Regions from separate parts of the Homo sapiens genome. Here region 2 is linked to region 1. The links are contacts of gene promoters, found by promoter capture Hi-C in human tissues and cell types (Jung and others, 2019). All regions are on one chromosome and are shown on one strand. The core of a region is centred on a gene start or on the middle of the fragment in contact, and the rest is flanking DNA. Distances in the headings are between cores, read along the strand shown.

Evidence for each region. Contacts are between HindIII fragments. The study calls those that stand out against the background at their distance.
Region 2: a fragment that was not itself captured here is called in contact with the fragment with the promoter of CDH19 in region 1 in 1 of the 25 tissues and cell types used here (dorsolateral prefrontal cortex).

Annotation. Positions count from the first base shown.
Region 1 is chr18:66,601,495-66,608,640 of GRCh38, forward strand. CDH19 (cadherin 19) reads right to left here and starts at 2,596. Exons shown (of 12, transcript NM_021153.4): 1 at 2,460-2,596. The HindIII fragment of the contact is 13,282 bases long and covers 1-4,898 here.
Region 2 is chr18:66,744,249-66,751,394 of GRCh38, forward strand. No RefSeq gene overlaps it. Among named protein-coding and RNA genes, the nearest start is that of CDH19, 140 kb to the left of the region's middle. The HindIII fragment of the contact is 4,942 bases long and covers 2,185-7,126 here.

The sequences.
Region 1 (7,146 bases), core at 1,346-3,845:
GTTGAGAAACCACTGTCCTAAAATAACATTTCAAATTTCACGTGTTGTGCCAAGGCAGGATTTTTAAAAATGATGTTTTGCTTTAATCTTAAGACATACTTGGATGATTCTGAATATAATTATTGAGTAATTAATGTGACACATTTTGACAAAGGTATGTATTCTAGAGTATGTTTTAAATTCAGACAAGCATTCTCTTAACGAATCATATCAGCATATTCAAGAGGGCAGGCATCATTTGAAAAGGAAATTGATCTGTTACACATTTTGACAGGCTTTAGAGCATTTAGCTGTGTTCTCTCAATTGAAAGGTGGTGAGAGTGGGTAAAAAAAAACGCTGTAAGGGTACAGTTTATCTTGTTTTGTTTTGATTTGATTTTAAAGTGGCAAACATCTTTCTAGTCACTTTTGCAAAGACACTCATTTTGTCAATCAGGGGCTGTCTTCACCATTGATAGAAAGGATTCCTGTGGGATTATTATTACGTTCCATACTTAGTTGTGTTTCAACTTCAATCTGTTTCACCAAAGCAAAGATACAGGTGATAGAAGATCATCGATGTTAAAGGAAATCGTCGTGACAACAAATTTTTCTTATTCACCAGCATGGTTCTCAAACACTTGGTTAGGAGCAATAAATTCTCATGTAAAGAAGGTATATAGAAAGATCAATATCTCCTTTTAAACAGTTTAACACATTTATTCCTAATGCATTACTACTCACTAACATGCTGAATACTGCTATGTAATGTTTTAAACATAACATATATTTAAGAGTACATGCTAAGATCATGAGTGGCAAAAATGATCAGTTGATATTTAGTTATAGATGATATGTATCAGATTATATGTAGCTGTATTAGGAGAAATTCCTGAAAGATGGATCTGGTTTCTTAATAATGCATAGGAGGCATCTGTGCACATCATTTTAAAGCATCTTCAATTTATGATAATTTAATCAAAAATTTTTTTATGTTTCTTGAGGAAATGTACCTTACAAACATTCCTAAGTGAAAAACAAAACAAAACAAAAAATATAAGTAGAAGACATATGCTTTTCGATATATGCAGATGTGTCTGTGTGTGCCTAAAATTATAAATATTTCACTGGAGCCTAAGTAAAGAATTTACTAATGTGTAAGACTGTAAAAATCAGATATTTATATAATGATATGAGCATTTCGTTCACTGTTATAAAGGCTTGGTAAAGTGGAAAACATATGTAAAGGAAAGGAGATCTGGTGGTTTCTAAATGACATAAATTGATTGTTTAAAAATTTTGAATAATTGCAGACAATAATGAAATGCTTATTCCTTTTAAAAATAAATTGTTAGTTATTTTATTTGGTCAATATAAATGTTCACATTACATTGAAATTTAAATTCTTTGAAATCAAAAATTATAGTAAGTAGGCATACTGCTGATAATTACAATATTAAGAATTTGAAAAAAGAATATATTAATGCATATAATTTTACTTAATATTGTAACTACATCTAAAACATAAATATATATTACTAAATTTTCAAATATTTTATCTAAATAATGTCTTTCTTACAGATATATTAATTCAACAAATGAATTAATAGAGCTAAAATATAAATTGACATAATCTAAAGAAAACCTTTGCCACTCTATTTAGGTATTTTTTGTTGCTAAATATTTTATGTTTTTATATTTAATAGATTTATTAAATCCCTTTGGTAAACTTATTTTGAAATATTTTATTATAATTAGTTATTCAATTAAAATTGCATGTACCAAATTAGAATTGAAACAATATAAAATGTCTTTTACAGTATGCATTTTCCTAATTTATACTTTTCTTAATTTATACTTTCATATTTGAGAAATTACCTTTTGTGTTATGTATAAATGTTATAATACATATAGGTAAATTAATATGCCTGTACAATTTTAGGCATATATGTGTTTTTATTCATAGCAATGCTAATATTTTAATTTTTTTGGAATTATAATATACTTAAAATTTTTCATATTTATTCTGTATATATTTTTTCTCATATACTTAATGATGACAACTCTATTGTTCATATTACCTGATATACATGGTAAATACATGATAAATAAAAAATAAAACCCTGAACAAAGAAAAAAGTGCAAAGAAAGACATGCAAAGAAAGGTTGATTCATTTATTCTAAGAAACTTGAGAAGTTTTAAATATCCTAACATAGGTGTAACTTCCCCCCAACACCAACAATCTGTATTACAGAGATGGAGAACTGTTCTCACAAATACGTGTTTTGAGAAAGTTCAGTACAAGTACACATCATGGTTTTAAAATTTTTAGAATATTTTCCTTATTTCCTATGTAAATATTTTCCTTAATATTTTTAGAATATTTTCCTAGCAACATTTTGTCATGTACTTTTTGACCTATTGACTCATTAAAGATGATGCATGTAGTTTATAATATGCCTGATTATCACAGTCTTACCTTTGTAACTTCAACTTCTAGAAGTTCTGTGAAAACTGAACAGCAAACTTCGTGTTGGACACATAAGGAAGAGTAGGAAAAACTTTCTTCTTTTTGCTTCACAGTCTTCTCAGCAAACTCTCGATGTGCCCCATTGCCCAGAGTTACAGACGCTTGTGCTTTTAGTACCACAACACTGTCAGTATGTCACTGCTTACTCAATGCTATTTTGGGTTCTCTGAGTAGAGTCATAAACACTGAGCCTTTTGTGCAAAATATCATAAGGGCACTCTGACGCTCGTTCATAGTCTGGAATTAAAATGCAGACAGCTACGCAAGTAGTATGAGCTGATTATCTTTGTTTTTTTTTTTTTTCCCCTAACAACAAGCAAAAACAAAATAAAGTACTTATTGGCCTGAGTTGATAAAGGGAGAATTCAACTTACATACAAGAATTTTGCAAGTAGAGCGGACGTGCCCTCTGTTTGGGGATTAGCTGATGAAACAAATGATCAATTTAAAGCAGACCCAAAACTTACTGAAAAGAGAAATGATTTTCCACTGTGTGTCTATGCCTCATGGCTGTTTCTTAATTCGGTCATTTCTCCTCAGAAATCAAGTAAAGACATAATGAGAGAGAAATGTCTAAACTTTAATAAGTCCTTTTCTTTTCCTTGGTTTATTATTATGTAAAATCTTTTATTTTATTCATGGTTATAATTAGATTTTGATATAAGCTATTATTATTTAACATAAAATACATATGTATTTTCTATGCTGTTTACTCAAGCTGTTATTTACTTAAAAACCATTTTTGAACCAAACTAGAGAAACATTAAAATATTAAAAGTTTCTTAAATTATACCTATATAATAAGAAAGTCTATGTGGGGCAGGATTATTCAAGCATCCTGTTAATTCTGATAGATATTTTGGTCACTATCCTCTTAGCTTTTGAGGAAAGAAATGGCAAAAGCTATATGGGCAGTAAAGTAGGACACTCAAGCACACACATATACACACATGCACATGTGCACACATGCATACACATACATGTGCACACACATACATATGCACACACACGCACAAATGCACATCCTATGAGGTTGTGAATATTAGGAGGAATCAATAATTTATGAACAAATCTTGAAGAGATGAACCTGGGAGAATAGATCTGTGGATAGCAGGAACAGTATAATGTGGAAATATTTTATTTTTTCAGGTAGAAAAAAGCATTCAGCTAGAAAAAAACACTTCTAAGTGTTTCAAGATGTTAGTAAATAGGGAAAAAATAAATTTTACAAAGAACCTCTGAAGTATTCTTATACATTTCCCCCTTCATATTTTTTACAGTATCAAAAAAGGTGGAGATACCTGTTTAAAATATTTATTTACATAATTCACTGTTCTGTCTATGACCTAGTCTAGGATTTCTGTAAGAATCTAACATTTTATGAGATGCCAATTTATATCTTGATGTTTATAAAATATCCAGTTGCACTTAGGATTGAAACCACAGTTTAGAGCCTCAGTGTACCTGTAAACATGATGTCCCAAAGGCTTATTTTAGAGCCTAAGGGAGCAAAGGTGGGTCACAATTTGCTGCCCTGATTATTACAGTACCAATAAAGAGCAATGGCAACTATAGAAACCACAGTGAGACAGGATTAAATTTTCTAAAGAAGGTACAGTGTGAAACTACATGTTTTATGTAGAATATCATTAACAGCAAACTGATTTTATTAAATAGATAATCTATTATCAAACACGTACAGGAACTAGTTGCTGTAAATTGCTTAAGAAATGCATGCCCTTTCTGGAAGAGGATATAAGATGAACAGCCGATAGCCAAGGATCCAGCAAGATTCATCCGCTATGCCACAACCAAGAATGAAGACTTGGAAGTACTTAGGGGACTGGTCATCAGATAAGCTTAGTGATTACTTCTTTTTTTTTTTTTTTTTTTTTGAGATGGAATCTCTCTCTGTCGCCCAGGCTGGAGTGCAGTGGCGCAATCTCGGCTCACTGCAAGCTCCACCTCCCGGGTTCACGCCATTCTCCTGCCTCAGCCTCCCGAGTAGCTGGGACTACAGGCGCCCGCCACCACGCCCTGCTAATTTTTTTGTATTTTTAGTAGAGACGGGGTTTCACCATGTTAGCCAGGATGGTCTCGATCTCCTGACTCGTGATCCGCCCGCCTTGGCCTCCCAAAGTGCTGGGATTACAGGCTTGAGCCACCGTACCCGGCCCAGCTTAATGATTACTTCTACGTCATTTTCTTTATAACAAGAGAAATATATCTGACTAATTTTTCATATATGGGGGGGTAATACATAGTAAATGGAACATGACTGTGTAAGAACAGAAGCTCAAAATTAAATACACTACTATCCATATGTAAGTCAGAGTTATCATACTCAGAGTTATCTGAGGTCCCCACAGCAGTAAACATGTGGCAGGATGGACAATTCCCGAAACACAAGTGATGTTTTATAGCTGCACAGTGACATTCTGGTCTATTTTCACATGCAGTCTGGGGGAATTTCACAGTTATCACCTGCCAGCAGGCTAAGGAACAGAGCTTGAAGTTGCAGAAGCCAGGATTGTATTGAGTTACTCTAAATAAAAATTTGAATTCAAGTATTATAATTCAGAGCCACCAATTTTTTAAACCAGATAATTAAGAAATATATATCTAATGACTAACCGCAGACAAGACTGGCTAATGAAGTTTGAATTTAACTGAACAGGCAGAAATGGAAAGTCAAACATTATGCAAGCTCTGATCTGTCCCTTGAAAATAGACATTTAACCAGAAAGTTTAAGTCTACCTACTTTATATCATAGGCTATACATGTGCCTTCAATTAGAAATTTAGGCCTTGTCCAATCAGGTGTTGTCAGGATAGCATAATCTAAGGACCACATCCTTCTCACATGGTCTGGAAGCATTTTAGTTCTTAAAAATATATTTAAGTTGTTTTGGGAAAAGCTTATAATATGTTAATACAAGAACATTTAAAACAGATATTTACTGTATGCTATCACTATATCAATGAGAAATCTATTGACTAGCAAGCAGATAGCAAAATCAAACAAAATCAAATCCAAAAATGAATAGAATAATGAAGAAATTCAATGTATACATAGAGAAATAAAGTAGGGTTAAGGGTTAGTTGATCCAGTGGCTTCCTACTGCAATCAGTTATCTAGGTTCTTGGGCTCTGTTTGGTTCTCCAACTTTTCCTCAAGGCCCTCAAAAACACTGTCACTTTCGTCTTATTCATCAAAATGATCACTTGTCCATGCATGAACAAAGAATGGCAACAAGAAAAGCTTAAAGTAATTGTCATTCCTGAACCTGAGAGAAAGAGTTAGTTGATAGAAAAACAGATTCATTTCCCCAAATTAGAGTGGAGTGGTTGAATCTAGTTGATAACCAACTAGACGTCCAGTGTTCACTTCAGATATTCATGTAAAATAGCTTTTAAAATGCTGAAAATAAAAATAATAATTTTCTCCATGGATTGCCATTAAATGGCATTCTTTTCCAACAGTCCAATTTGCTGTGTTTTCCATTCTGTTTTTAACATTGAATATATATCACAATGATAAATATGGGGAAATAAAAAAATGCACAATGATAGAACAAACAATAAACAAAATATTCACTAATCTATATACTTCTAACCATGCTAAAATACTTTGTATCAAAATTACACAAATTTTGCTCAGAGTAAAGAAATATTGTCTTGAATATGGCAACAATTTGTATGGTTTGAAGATTTATCTTTTAAATTCTAGTTACAGTAGCCACTTGTCTAATATAATAAAAAATTTTATTGTCATATATATGTCCTTATTTTCTTATTTTTGTATTCATTCTTTTTTCTTTTTCTTTTTATATTTAATTAATTAATTAATTCATTTATTTATTTGTTTGTTTGTTTTTTGAGACGGAGTCTTGCTCGGTCACCCTGGCTGGAGTGCAGTGGGGCGATCTCGGCTCACTGCAAGCTCCGCCTCTTGGGTTCAAGCCATTCTCCTGCCTCAGCCTCCCTAATAGCTGGGAGTACAGGCACCTGCCACCATGCCCGGCTAATTTTTTGTATTTTTAGTAGAGGCGGGGTTTCACCGTGTTAGCCAGGATGGTCTCGATCTCCTGACCTCGTGATCTGCCCGCCTCGGCCTCCCAAAGTTGTTTTGTTTTTATTTTCTTTTGTAAGAAGACTTTTCTCTGGAGCAGTATATTTAAGAAATATATATATGTATGTATATTTGCCAAGCCGCAACATAATCTCCATGACGGAAGAAATCCATTATAGTAATTAACAATGAATAAATGTATAAATAACAAAAAAGGCTCATTACAAGAATAATTTAGTAATTGTCAATATGCAAACAAACAACCCAAAATACTTAAATTCAGACATAAACGTGTAGAGGTATGTCAGCCTTGTTTTCTGTTTATATTACCAGAATTTATTAGAAACATCTCACCTAGGCACCAACCTCTTTGAAACGGTAGATTAACTTTTACTTTTTCTTTCACCAGGACAATATTAATATGAACATTTAATTTCTGGAAGAGTTTCCATGTTTTTATAAAATTTTGGTTACTTCTTAAATTTATAGATCATGCACATCAGCATTATAAACATTCTCTCTGGCATCATTTAGAATTGTAATATTATAAAAGATGTGAAGTTA
Region 2 (7,146 bases), core at 3,406-5,905, 140 kb after region 1:
AAGCCATATGGAGCTCATGTCACTGCTTTGCTGGAAATCCTTTTGTGTTTTCCCTTCTCTCACAGAGGAAAGGACAGTCGTGTTGGCAAACTTTAGGGCCCATCATGACCTGCTCTGTTTCCGTGCAGTGTTAGCTCTCTGAGCTCAGATGCTCATACTCTAAGACTGCCCTTCCTCCTCTCACTCTGATCTAACACCACCTGTCTCCTTGTTATATCTGAAAAGGACAGGTACATTAACACTTTAGGGCAGGCTTTTTCAGGATTGACACTGCTGATCCTTTGAGCTGGGTAAATTTTTGCTGTAGGGGACTGTATTGTGCACTCCTAACCTCTACTCATTAGATACCAGTAGCAAGCCCTGTCTCAATTTGTGAGAACCAAAAATATATCCAGACACTGATAAGTGTCTCCTGGGGATCAAAACAGTTAAGAATCACTGTCCTAGGGTCTTTGTATTGGATGTTCATCTTCTTAGAACGCAATTTAACATTATATGTAGCCTCACTTTCTTCTGTAATTTAGTCAAATATGTTTTCACGGAAGCTTTTTCTGGTCAAAGCAACAAAAATGTAACACCTCATTTTATATTATTTTCTGTTTTGTTGTTGTTGTTTATCCATAGCTAATAAACTTTTTATATTATTAGTTGTTTATTTGTTTCATCTCACTAGAATTTAAGATCTGTGCTCTGTCTCTTTTGATCCCTAATGCTTTTCCAGTCTTTAAAACATTGGCACGTAGCAAAAATGCCAATTTACATTTATTGAATGAATAAATTCGTGAACAAATGAATTAGCGAGTTATAGAGTTACTTTTGCATATTCCAGGAATTTCACTGCTGCAAATGGAAAAGAATGAAACACAGACTGCCAATCAAGGCAGCATGAGTTTCATTCATAAGAAACTCATTTAATTTTTCCACAGCAAGTCAACTTTTCATAAGGTTGGAAATATGGAGAATAAATAAATGGGAAGATACTTTCTGGCATCTTCCTTTGCTCATCTCATGATGAATGTAATTATGCATTTCTATTGCTAAAAATTATTCATAGACCAGTAATGCGTACAAGATAATTTTTGGAATAAATAGAAATTATTAGAACTATCACTCAATTTATACTGACAGATTCTCACCTATATCAGATGCCTAACAAATCAAGAGTATTTGTATGTTTTCTGTACTATTTCTTTTATGTAAATGGAAGGAAATGTAAAAGTTGTGCGTGTGTTTTAGCTTCTACCTCAAATAGAAATGCTGGGACCGTGTGCACAATCATTTGGTATTTATTTGAAGAATTTAACATCTGACTCCGAGGGTAAGCATTTATAGATGTACTTTATGATCACTGCATGAAGAGTTTGGATTGTAATGTGGTACAAAAAGATGTGCCTGAAACCTTTTTCGCATTGCAAACATCAAATGGAGTGGAAGACAGATGGGGTTCACAATTTTAAGGAAACAGTATAAGCCCCTAATGCTGGAAATTAGTTCATGTGCTCAACAGCTGCTGACGTTAGGAAATCAGCCCCTGGATGGGATGCCTGCAGCATCAGATCTCTGTGAGAGACAAGAACACAAAGTTTTCACTGGTCGGAGCAAAACCAGTGACTTCTTTCTTGAGCAAGATCCCTGAAGTCTCCTTAACCATTAACTATCAGAAAGAAGGGCTGAAGAATGACAAAGGCACACACAGGCACCCACATAGACAAAATAGAAAATAAATGACAGAGGAGGGGTACACATTGGAAAATACTACACCAAGGCAAAAGAAAGCTCTAGTCAAATCTATTTTTTTTAGCGTTTGAAGAAAATAATGAAAATATATCCTAGTAAAAGGCCATAACCAGGGATTCTATAAGGGATTCTATAAGAATAATGATGCAACAATAAGTAATAGAAATATGTAATTTTGGTGCAGAAAGGAAAGAAATTAATGAGTGATAGAAAGATTTTGAAGAAATGAATTGACCCCACAACCAGTCTGAAATTATAAGAGGCTACAAGTATTTGATTTTTTTGCTCTTCCCTCTCCAAAGGCATTAATCACCAAAGATCAGGCACTGATTTGAGGACCTTGAAAGGCATTGGGAAATGGCACAAATTCACTTTTAACATCATTTTATGTGCATCTTTCACATGTTATATTGTCTGGGAGGTCTGCACATTACCAAACCCACTGGAACAACCTGAGTTTGGTATATATGATACTTTATTTCTCTCATTATGTATATCAGTGTCTGATTATATTGTGTAATCTTTTTAATAAATGGGATCATGCCATACATATAATGCTGTATCTACTTCTTTCACAATGCAATAGGTTACTATTTGTTTTTGAAGTCAATACATTTAGTTCTCTTTCATTTTTATACAGTCTGCTTACTACGCCATTATGCAGAGATATTACAAATTATTTATTAGAGTTAATAAAATATCTATTCCACATTTAGAAAAATCTAAATTGTTCTTTAGTATGAAATCCCTGCAATGGATTTTTTATATATGTTAGTACATTATCTAATTGTTATTTAGCATATATGTTTAAATAGTTTATCTTTATTGTCAGATTCCTCTTCAAAATAAGTTGTATAATTTTCTAGTTAACAACTTATTAGAGTACTTTTTTTTCCTGTAGGCTCTTTCAGTATATTTAAAAGTTACAAATGTTATCCTGAAACACAGCTGATTTTTTTTTTACATTTATGTCATTAAGGATATAATGCATATGTTACAAATTTATTTTCCTATTTCTTTTTTACTGTTATTTCATTACCTTTGACTTTTAAAAGTTTTATTAATTTTGAAAAACCCTGTGTATATTATTTTTATGTCACACAAAAGTTATAAAATTAATAATCAGTAAGAATTTAAAATGACGATTAATCCTGTATTCCTCAGCTGATTTCAATTCCACATTCAACACATTATTTTACTGTTTGAAAGTGTAATATTCGTTTCATGAAACTTATTTTTTATAAAGAAATAAACTCTAAGTTGTGTGTATGCTTACTGTCATTTTAGAATAGATATTCAATTCATTATAAGCCATTAATTAATAAGGCTTTTTTTTTTTTTCTGACCTCATCTTCCTCTGTAGCCCAGGCTGGAGTGCAGTAGCATGGTCATATCTAACTGCAGGCTTGATTTCTTGGGCTCAAGCAATCCTCCCACTTCAGCCTCCTGAGTAACTTGTGGGAACATAGGCACATGCCACACCACACCCCTGGCTAATTTTTTAAACTGTTTTAGAGATGAGGTCTTACTATGTTACACAAGCTGGCCTCAAACTTCTGGACACAAGCTATTCTCTCACCTTGCCCTTCCAAAGTGCTGGGATTACAAACATGAACCACCACGCCAGGCCCAACTCTGACATTTCTTCACCTTAAAAAAAATTCACCATAGAGTTATATTGCATGGATCTGTTTCTGGATTCTATTCTTTCTATAAGTCAGTATAAGATTAATTCTGGCATGGCAAGTCAACCTTCATCATCCGTTTTCACAGTTCATTTCACAATTACCTACATTTATTCTCACAAACAAATTTGAATATATACACATTTAATTGTTTTGTATTTGGACACATTACTCAATTCTTATTTTTAGTCATTTTTCAGTTCATTGTTTTTGAAAGTACTATTTTTATAATCATATCAAAACCAACTTTAAATTTTCTTTAAAAACACAAGTTTGAGAAAATTAGGTACCTGGGAATCTTAAGAAAAATGTCAGTCATGTCACAGTGTGGGTTGCTAGTATGTCAGTTTCTACTTTGTGTTATGTGATCATCATTTCAAAACGCTTACCTGCAAATAAAGCTTAGTAGGTACACCACTAAATTACGCTCCAGTTAGAGTTGCCAGATTTAGCAAATAAAAGTAAAGGTTCGTGTCCAGATAAATTTGAATTTCAAATTATCATCAACAGGTTTTTTTTTTTTAGAATAACTGTGTCCCAAGTATTAAATTGAAATTCAAATTTAACTGGAGTCTCATATTTCAACTGGCAACACTAACACCAATACAAGTGTCATTCAATTTGAAAAACTGTCTTTAATTTTAAATTTGTAAGTTTATCAGTCCTAATGTTTGCATGTATTTAAAAAACAGTTTAATAATTTAATTGGTCATTAAAAAATATCTAGCAGAGAATAATTGGATTCTCTGTAACTCAAAGGATAAATGCTCTAGGGAATGGGTACCCCATTTTATAAGATGTCATTATTACACATTGCGTGTGTGTGTCAAAACAGCTCATGTACCCCATAAATATATACGCCCTCTATGTACTCACAAAAACTAAAATTAAAAATTAAAGGCCGGGCACGGTGACTCACGCCTGTAATCCCAGCACTTTGGGAGCCCAGGGCAGGAGGATCACGAGGTCAGGCGTTCAAGACCAGCCTGACCAATAAGGTGAAACCCTGTCTCTACTAAAAATACAAAAATTAGCCAGGCGTGGTGGCACGCGCCTGTAGTCCCAGCTACTCGGGAGGCTGAGCCAGGCGAATCACTTGAACCCAGGAGGTGGAGGTTGCAGTGAGCTGAGATCGTGCCACTGCATTCCAGCCTGGGCAACAGAGCAAGACTGTCCCTAAATAAATAAATAAATAAATAAATAAATAAATAAATATAATAAAAATTAAAAATTTTAAAAAGTTTACTTAAGTGATTGATTTTCCAAAAAAGAATTTTTTCTTTAAAACATGAAATTGGTGATTGCTAATATTTTTATCACAATAAAATTTGAAAACCTTATGTGTCACAAGATTCTTAGTTAATACAAATCCAACTATAGGGAATCTCTGATCTGTGGCATGCCACTCCACTCCAAATACAGGGTAAAGAAAAGTAACAATGTTCTCCTGCTGCTGAAAGTTTGTTCTGAAAAGCTTGGAGGTTAGGTACCACAGATGAATCCTAGAAGGCCCAGAACAAAACGCTCCCACCTCACTGAAGAGCTGGTATGCTGAACATTTTATCGGGATCCAAAGAGTTGATGTATTCCAACAATGCCATCTTCAGGCCAGACCACACTTAGGAAATCCCAAAATTAACAGTTTATTTTATTTTTGAAAACTTCACCTTATGAAAATGAAAAGAAAATGAGGGGAAAGGAATTTCTGAAGGAGAAGATACTAGATTTCAGAATGTTGACCATTTTGAGAAGCAAGTTTAATCTTGGAACTGTTAATTTTATTTACTTGTATTATCTGTATGATGTTACAGATACAAAGCACAAACAAATAGTGTGCATTCTTCTTCCTTCTTTTATATCCCTCTTTACCTTGCACATTTTTATACACTGTCATTTCACCATTTTTAATTTCCTGTTCCATTTTTTACTAATATTCAACACATTTTGTTTTCTTCTATTTCTGTGCTTTTCTGTGCTCCTTGTTAAATTCCCAAAAAATGTGCAATGGTAAGCATTTTTCCTAACCATTAATGTTTTTTCACAAACTATGACAGCAAAGAAAGAATGTAGGTGTTCCATGAAATAGCTGAGAGAAAATGAAACCAACATGAATATCTCTCATTTAAGCCACATGGAGTTTAGCAGCTGCCAAGGGTAAAGAATGGTTTAAGTCATTTCCTATAAGCTCTTCACACAAAAGAACAGGAATAAATTGGATTGAATCTATTTGACTCAGCACTATCTTGTGACTTTATGATCTGTTGCAGTTTTCAACTGAACTATCTGCTTACCAGTGTTCAACTCCATTTGATCTTTGGGAGGTAAGAGACCTGGGGATAACTGTTAGATTGTGAACCTTGGATCAAAGCCACTCTAGACTATAATGAGCATATAGTAGATATGTATTTGGACATGCATGTGTCCAAAGGTTCAGTATGTAATGAAACTATCCGTATTCTATCTTCTATTGCTATATTTATAGGAGATGTCGACAGTCTCAATTATACCACATCATCATCTAATTTCACGCCACAAAAGCATGTTAATAATTTGTCTGTACAACTTAATGAGGAATTTTTTTTTTCTTAACCATGGTAGTTGACTTATCCTTCAGCCTCCTACTTTTGGGGATAGAATTACAGTTTCATAAAAGAACTCAGGAGTACACTTGCTGCTTAGTTAAAATCAAATATAGTGTACTGGTGTTATTAGAAGTGATTAGTTTAATTGTTTGAATGATAAAAATAATATTAAACACCATTCTTAATGCAATGTTTATATGAAAAACATTTTAGAGATGTGCTCAAATATTATTGCTTGTGATGTAACCATATGTTCTCCCTTATATTAAAAGGTTTACCAAACAACTAGCATTTCTTCTGAGCATAACAGGATGCCAAGAACCTCATTTAGCCAAAAGACTTCTTTAAGTGCTTTATAGAATCTCTCTACTGCATTGTTTTGAACTTATTTATATTATATACAAGCACTGAATAGGCTAAAATCACTGCTACTGGAAAAAATACACACACAGGGATAAATGGATAGATACAAGAATATACATGTTTTAAAATTCTTCTGAAGTTATCTTAAACTCTTTACTATTATTAAAATAATTTAATACAAATCTCTCATATTAATTTTTCCACATATAACATTGCGTACTCTTTCCAAGAAGAACAGAGGTAAAAGAAGAAAATGTTTTGAATTTGCTTTCCAACATATTAATTTAAGGACATACATATTCCTTGGAAAACCATTTTTTTCAAAGCTCACAGGTTTTCATTTGTAGTGCTTGTTCTGTTTTCCACTCTCTCTATATTTTTATTTTAATGTCAGCTTCCTCTTGGATTAAGAGTTATATATTCAGTAGGAATTGTATATTAAAATAGTCACCAGGAGAGAGGTTTCATCTTTTTTTTTTTTTTTTTTGAGGTGGAGTTTCACTCTTGCCCAGGCTGCAGTGCAATGGTGCAATCTCAGCTCACCACAATCTCCACCTCCCGAGTTCAAGCGATTCTCCTGACTCAGCTCCTGATTCTCCCAAGTAGCTGGGATTACAGGCATGAGCCACCATGCCCAGCTAATTTTGTATTTTTAGTAGAGACGGGGTTTCTCCATGTTGGTCAGGCTGGTCTCGAACTCCTGACCTCAGGTTATCCGCCCGCCTCCGCCTCCCAAAGTGCTGGGATTACAGGTATGAGCCACCGCGCCTGGCCTCTTT